2 separate regions of the Homo sapiens genome follow, and region 1 is linked to region 2. The links are contacts of gene promoters, found by promoter capture Hi-C in blood cells and fetal thymus (Javierre and others, 2016). All regions are on one chromosome and are shown on one strand. Each heading gives the region's core, a stretch centred on a gene start or on the middle of the fragment in contact. The rest is flanking DNA. Distances are from core to core; before and after follow the strand shown.

Region 1 (2,879 bases), core at 61-2,560, 120 kb after region 2:
GGTTTAGAATGTTTCCCCGCTGGGCGCGGTGGCACACGCCTGTAATACCAGCACTTTGGGAGGCCGAGGTGGGCGGATCACCTGAGGTCAGCAGTTTGAGACCAGCCTGGCCAACATGGCGAAACCCTGTCTCTACTAAAAATACAAAAAGTACCCAGGTGTGGTGGCACATACCTGTAATCTCAGCTACTCAGGAGGCTGAGGCAGGGGAATCGTTTGAACCCAGAAGGCAGAGGTTGCAGTGAGCCAAGATCACACCACCGTACTGTAGCCTGGGCGACAGAGTAAGACTCCATCTCAAAAAGAAAAAAAGAATATTTCCTGATTTTTCAGGGCAAGAATGGCCAGTGACACATATTTTACAAACTCCTCATTCCTAACTCTTTGGGGCAGAGCTCAAGGGAAAGGGAGGCTGGGGGTGGAAGGGCCAGCCACATGGCCCGCGTGGGCCTGGGGTATGTGTGCCCCTGGCAGCGCTGCTAGGCCAGCTTCACCTGGAACTCAGTGGCATGGAATGTCAGAGCTAGAAGGAACAGCACCCAGCACCCAGCCCTGTGGCTCACAGGGTGCCCTCCCCTGGCTAATTAGTGTCTGATTCTGCCCCAGCTGCTGAATCCCAGCCTCTTCCCCGCTTAGGGATCTGCAGCACCCAGTGGCCCTTCATTCTGCGGGATCTATACCTCTGACCCCTCTGACTTAGTGGTTATCCGGTGGGCGATCCCCAGGGAACGGGCTGGTACTTGGGGTGACCTAGTTGCCAGTCAGTTAATCCCGAGCAGGAACCTCCACTCGCACATCTGCAAAGTGCAGGCAGGTGGAGGGAGGGAGAGTCTCTGCAGGTCTTAGTCTCCTGCCTTCTGACTTTCAGTTAGTCCCATCTCTAGCCTCATCTCAGTCCCCACCCTGCACTCCCCTGGCTTCCTTGCTGCTTCTCTCACTCTCTGGACTTCACCAAGCAGATCACATTCTTCTTATGCACATCCTTCTCTGTGAGTGTCCTGTCCTGCTGCCTCAGTTACCACTCCCATCCATTTGTGGTCTCCCTATAATTTGTTGCTAATTGCCTCTTTCCTGTAAACCGTCATTTTAGTGGAATCTGAGAAGGGAAAGGAGATAAAGACATGCTTTCAATCTACCGTCTTTGAATCAGAAGTCCTACAGCATATTTTGGAGGAGCTTTGTCGAATTCCATTCTATGCCTGTGCCTTCTATTTACCCAGTCTCGTGTTTTGCACACTTAGATTGTTCCTCCCTACAGCTTCCCCGTTAAAAAAAACATCTGGTCGGGTGCAGTGGCTCACACCTGTAATCCCAGCACTTTGGGAGGTCGAGGCGGGTGGATCTCTTGAGCCCAGGAGTTAGAGACCAGCCTGGCCAACATGGTGAAACCCCATTTCTACTAAAAATACAAAAATAAATAAATAAATTAGCTGGGCACCATGGCATGCACCTGCAGTCCCAGCTACTCAGGAGGCTGAGGTGGGAGGATCACTTGAGCCCAGGATGTTGAGACTGCAGTAAGCCAAGATTATGCCACTGCACTCCAGCCTAGGCAAAGAATGAGACTCTGTCTCAAAAAAATAAAAAATACAACAATGTTTGCATGAGTATCCTTGCAGCTAAATCTTTAGGCATATTCCTACAGGTGAATTTCTGTAAGAATTTCTGGGTCAAAGGATATGCAAAACTTTAAGATGTTTCTGGTGCATATTGCTAAAATTCTCTTTATAAATATGATAACTAATTTGCATTCCCATTAGCAATAAATGTGTCCACTTCTTTACACCTTTGTCAGTACTGAATATCTTTGAACCTATGTTTTTGTGTATATAACATGAATATTCTGTAGACTTGACTCCAGGGTCAGAGGGCATGCATGTTGAAATTTTGATAGATACTGGTGAGTTTACTAGCTTTTTCCCCCTAGCCAGTGTATTGGCATACATGTTTCCTCCACATTCTTGCCAACACTGCAGTATGATTTTAAATTCTTTTCCAATTTGACAGGCTATTTTAATCTGCATTTTACTGATGTCTCCTGAGGTTGACTATTTCTTGTGTGTTCATGCCATTTGTGTTTCTTCTCTTGTGGCTTGCCTATAACCCATTTTTTTGCTCGTGTGGTTATTTTCTTATTGATTTCAAAGCTGTCTTTATATATTAAGGATATTAATATGCAGAGGGAAATTAATTTTTTCGTTTTGTTGACATTGAATTTATTTACCCCTTTTTGTTTGTTCATACATAGAATCAATACTTTTTTTTTCCCCCAAGACAGAGTCTTGCTCTGTCGCCCAGGCTGGAGAGCAGTGGTACAATCTCGGCTCACTGCAAGGTCTGCCTCCCGGGTTCATGCCATTCTCCTGCCTCAGCCTCCGGAGTAGCTGGGATTACAGGCGCCCCCACCACGCCCGGCTAATTTTTTGCATTTTTAGTAGAGATGGGGTTTCACCATGTTGGCTAGGCTGGTCTCAAACTCCTGACCTCATGATCCGCCCACCTCAGCCTCCCAAAGTGCTGGGATTACAGCCGTGAGCCACCGTGCCCAGCCAAATCAGTACATTTTCAACGGTAAAATGTCTCGGTCTTTTTCCTGTGTAGTGTGCCTCCAGAATGACCTGTTCCCGAACTTCCTTTATATCTATATATTCGCTGGACCTGAGGGATGGGCTGGCTGCAAATGCATCTGTGACTGAGTTCCAGGTTGTGATCCTCAGTTCCTTCAGAAGACAGTGGACAATTCTTCTGGGGGTTGCTTAGGCACGGTGGCAGCTGGAGGGTGGGAGGTTGGTCCTGGGGAAGAGGCAGTCCCCACCTGAGCCTTCACATTATTGACCTGGGAGCTGCTGGCTGGAGCGTTCCAAGACCCACCTTGAACT
Region 2 (3,214 bases), core at 203-2,702:
CCCGCGCCGCGGAGGTTTGAACCTTCGGCTCGCCTTTCAGCCCGCGCCCTGCCCCCTGCTCGCAGCTGCTCCCGGTTTGGGTGCAGCGGTTTCCCCCGCAGAGGAGGAGGAGGAGACAGCGCGAGGGAGCGACTCCGGGCTCGGGTTTCCGCACCAATGCCGAGCAGCCCCGGGCGGCCCCCGGTGGCCGTCCCTCCTCCCCGGCACCACGTTCCACAGTCATGGCGCGCGAGGAGGGGCGAGCGCGCGCGGCGGCTGCACCCGCGCCCCCTCTCCTCCCCTCCCCTCCGCCGCCCGGCCCCTCTCCTAGGCAACCCCCCTCCCCGGCCTGCTGCGCCTGCCGCGGCAAGGGAGACCCCTCCCCAGAGAGCTGCTCTTCCAGCGCGGTCTACTGCACCCCTTCCCCGCCCCCATCGGGGCGGAGGGATGGAGACGCGCGCTTCGCGAACCTCCAGCCCCTTCTCCGGAGCCCCAGCCCTCTCCCAGCCCCACCGAGGCCAGGGTGCGGTGGGGGTAGGCGCGGACCGTCTCCTCGCAGCCCGCCTCGACCTCGGCATCTTTGCAAACACTTAGAAAAATAAACAAACCCCCTCACAAACCCCAGTCGTTAGCTTGCAAAGCGTGTTACAATAACCGGGACGGCTACGCAGGAAGCAATCCTGCACTGGTCCGGGTTTAAGGCGGCAGCTTCCCGGCCACGCTGCCTTCTCCCCGGCCTCGATTTTCCGGCCATGCCGGAGGGTCCGCTGCACCTCAGGGCTGACAGGTCCCGCTCGCGCAGGGCCGCAACTGGGCCCGTGTCCCCCGTCCCATCCTCGTCCAGAGACTCGCCAGCCTACAAAAGGTGCAACCTCACGCACACGCAAAGCGCACAAATAAAGTCAGCAGCGCACCGCCGCGAAGGCTGCGAACAATGCGCCGGGCGGCCCGCGCCCGCCGTAGCGCTGCGCCCCGGGGGAAAGGGGACGCGGGCGGGGGCCGAGGCGGACGACCAGCCGGTCGCGGCGCTGGACACCTTACTTCCTGCTTCCCCGCCCGCGGCCAGACCCAGCTCTGCGGAGGGATATCTCCCCTCCTCGGTCCCTCTCCCTCCCTTCCCCCTCCCTTCCCCCGCCCTCCCCCTCTTTTTGCTCCTGCTCCCCCCCCCCACCCCGCCTTTCTCCTTTTGCAAGAAAATAATTTGACAGTCGATTTGCTGACAAGGGAGGAATTTGCATCCTGGATTTAAAAAAAAAAAAAAGGCCGAGAGGAGCTTGGGAACGGTTGCTAGGGGTGGGTAATGGGTGAAAAAAGGGGGGTACCGGGGAGCGGATAAGGAGGGTTAAGGGAGGGGGCGAGGATGGGGAGCAATGCAAAGGTAAGGCCAGGTTACCGCGGCTCGGCCCCGAGTGGGCTGCGACCGGGGGAGGGGCGAGAGATACATATGTATTTCTGTCTCCCCAGCACACCCCCTTCCCTCTAAGCGATGGCTGAGAGGCGGTGCATGCAGATGGGGAGTAAGTTTCCTGAAGGGGAGGGTGGATGCACGCGCGCAGCCCGGCGCTGCAAATTTCCACTGGGGAGGGAGAACGGCTGGATGCGGAGAGTTTGGAGTTGCTTGCGGCGGAGGGCAGGAAGGGGAGCAGGGCTGGGAAAGGGGGCTGGCGGGCGCTATATCTGGGAGTAAGTTTCCAGCATCAGGAGAGCCTGCACGCTTGCTCACTAGTAAGTTTCTGGCCGGGGAGGGCGCATGGGGAGGAGGAGAGGGAGGGGTGCATGTATATAGAAGGGGGGAGGGGGGAGCAGATTTCCTGCGGGGAGGCTGAATGCATATGGAGAGTAGATTTCCTGAAGGGAGGGTGGAGGCGTAGACGGACCGAGTAAGTTTCTTGCTGGGGTGGTGGAGGAGGTGGTGGGTTGGTGCTTTGGAAACCCAAAGCTTCCTACCCTGGGTGGGGGAGCACACTCTTGTCGGGGGGACGAGGGGCCAGGTTCCCTGCTGGGGAGAGGGGCTTGCATCTGGGGAGTATGTTTCCTGGCGGAGCGATATTTGTTTACAGGCTGAGGGCAGTACAGTAAGTGAGTAGCGCTGAGAGAAGGCGGCTGACATAAATTAATATTGAAATTACTCCATCAGCTCTGCTCGCCCCCCATCTCACCCCCCAAGCGGATACTGGTCTTCTCGTCGGATTGCCCATGCACTTGTTGCAGAAACAGCCAAGGTAGGCAAGAAGCTTATTAAGTTTCATTTTTAAAAAATTAGTTTGGGGATGCTCCTCGAGAAGACGGGGGTGGGGCGAAGTGGGGAGGGAAGAGTGGGGAGACAGAAGGAGAAGTCTCCCCCCCCTTTACTTTCACTATGCAAGCAGGCCTTCTCCCTTCTTCCCTTCTTCCCTCTCCGGGCTGCACAGCATCCCAGCAAAGGGGGAGGGATGAGGTGGGCGCTATAATTGGCAACCCTGGCTTAAAGGTAGTGATGGTGGGCTTGCATTTGAGGTTGTGATGTTATAAAGGCTTCATTCTCCAGCTAAGAAACCGCAGGACTCTGCCTTTTGGGGTTTTTGACATGATACATATGTGTATGTATACGCGCCTGCGGGCTCTGTGGGGGCTGGGTACTCCCCAGAAGTTAGTGTGGCCACCCAGATGGGAGAAATGTGTAAGGGGGTAAACCTGTTCCTTCACTCCCCAACTTCAGTTTGGGAGACTGGGAAGTTACTGCCGGTGGTCTTAAGAAACAGATATTAAAAACCAACCAAACCACTCCTTCACCAGCGGAGGCCGAGAGCACCTGGCAGGCAGCCTCTGGCCAGCACTGGACTGGAGCATGTGCGCCTGCCATCCTTAGGTTACAAGAAAACGCTTTCTGGTTCCTCCGTGTGTCTTCTACCGGCCTGTTAGAGCCAGCTTTGTGGAAACTCTTCCCCAGACTAGACGCAGCTTTGGCAAGTGCCAGTACTGAAGGGGATGGCTTCAATTCAGCATGGCCTGGGCTGTCTTGTGAGTGCGTGGAAGTCGTGCTTAGGAATGACCGCCCCTGTAGTGGCTAAAGAGTTCATTAAAAAATATCTCCTGAAAACCGGTCCAGGTGCACTTTTCAGCAGGTCATTGAGGAGAGTTTTAAGAAGGGGAGTTTTAAGTTGTCCCAGTTAGCACCCACCTTCTGCATCACTGACCCTTTTAAGAAAGGAGTTTGGCGATAGGAAGTGTGGTGTTGATGCTCACTGACTGGAGA

What was found. The method cuts DNA at HindIII sites, captures the fragments that hold promoters and counts their contacts. A CHiCAGO score of 5 or more calls a contact.
Region 1: a fragment that was not itself captured here is called in contact with the fragment with the promoter of TRERF1 in region 2 in 1 of 17 cell types (M0 macrophages); the score reaches 5.5 in M0 macrophages.

What each region holds. Positions count from the first base shown.
Region 1 is chr6:42,329,381-42,332,259 of GRCh38, reverse strand. All of the region lies in intron 3 of TRERF1 (transcriptional regulating factor 1), which reads left to right. Among named protein-coding and RNA genes, the nearest start is that of MRPS10, 110 kb to the right of the region's middle. The HindIII fragment of the contact is 6,589 bases long and covers 1-2,879 here.
Region 2 is chr6:42,450,164-42,453,377 of GRCh38, reverse strand. It overlaps TRERF1 (transcriptional regulating factor 1), which reads left to right and starts at 1,452. Exons shown (of 18, transcript NM_001395490.1): 1 at 1,452-1,704; 2 at 2,117-2,201. LOC124900214 (arf-GAP with GTPase, ANK repeat and PH domain-containing protein 2-like) reads right to left here and starts at 1,018. Exons shown (of 4, transcript XM_047419627.1): 1 at 1-1,018. The coding sequence starts at 557. LOC107986596 (a long non-coding RNA gene) reads right to left here and starts at 1,018. Exons shown (of 5, transcript NR_171668.1): 1 at 753-1,018. RefSeq lists silencers at 1-437, 908-987. The HindIII fragment of the contact is 2,023 bases long and covers 1-1,920 here.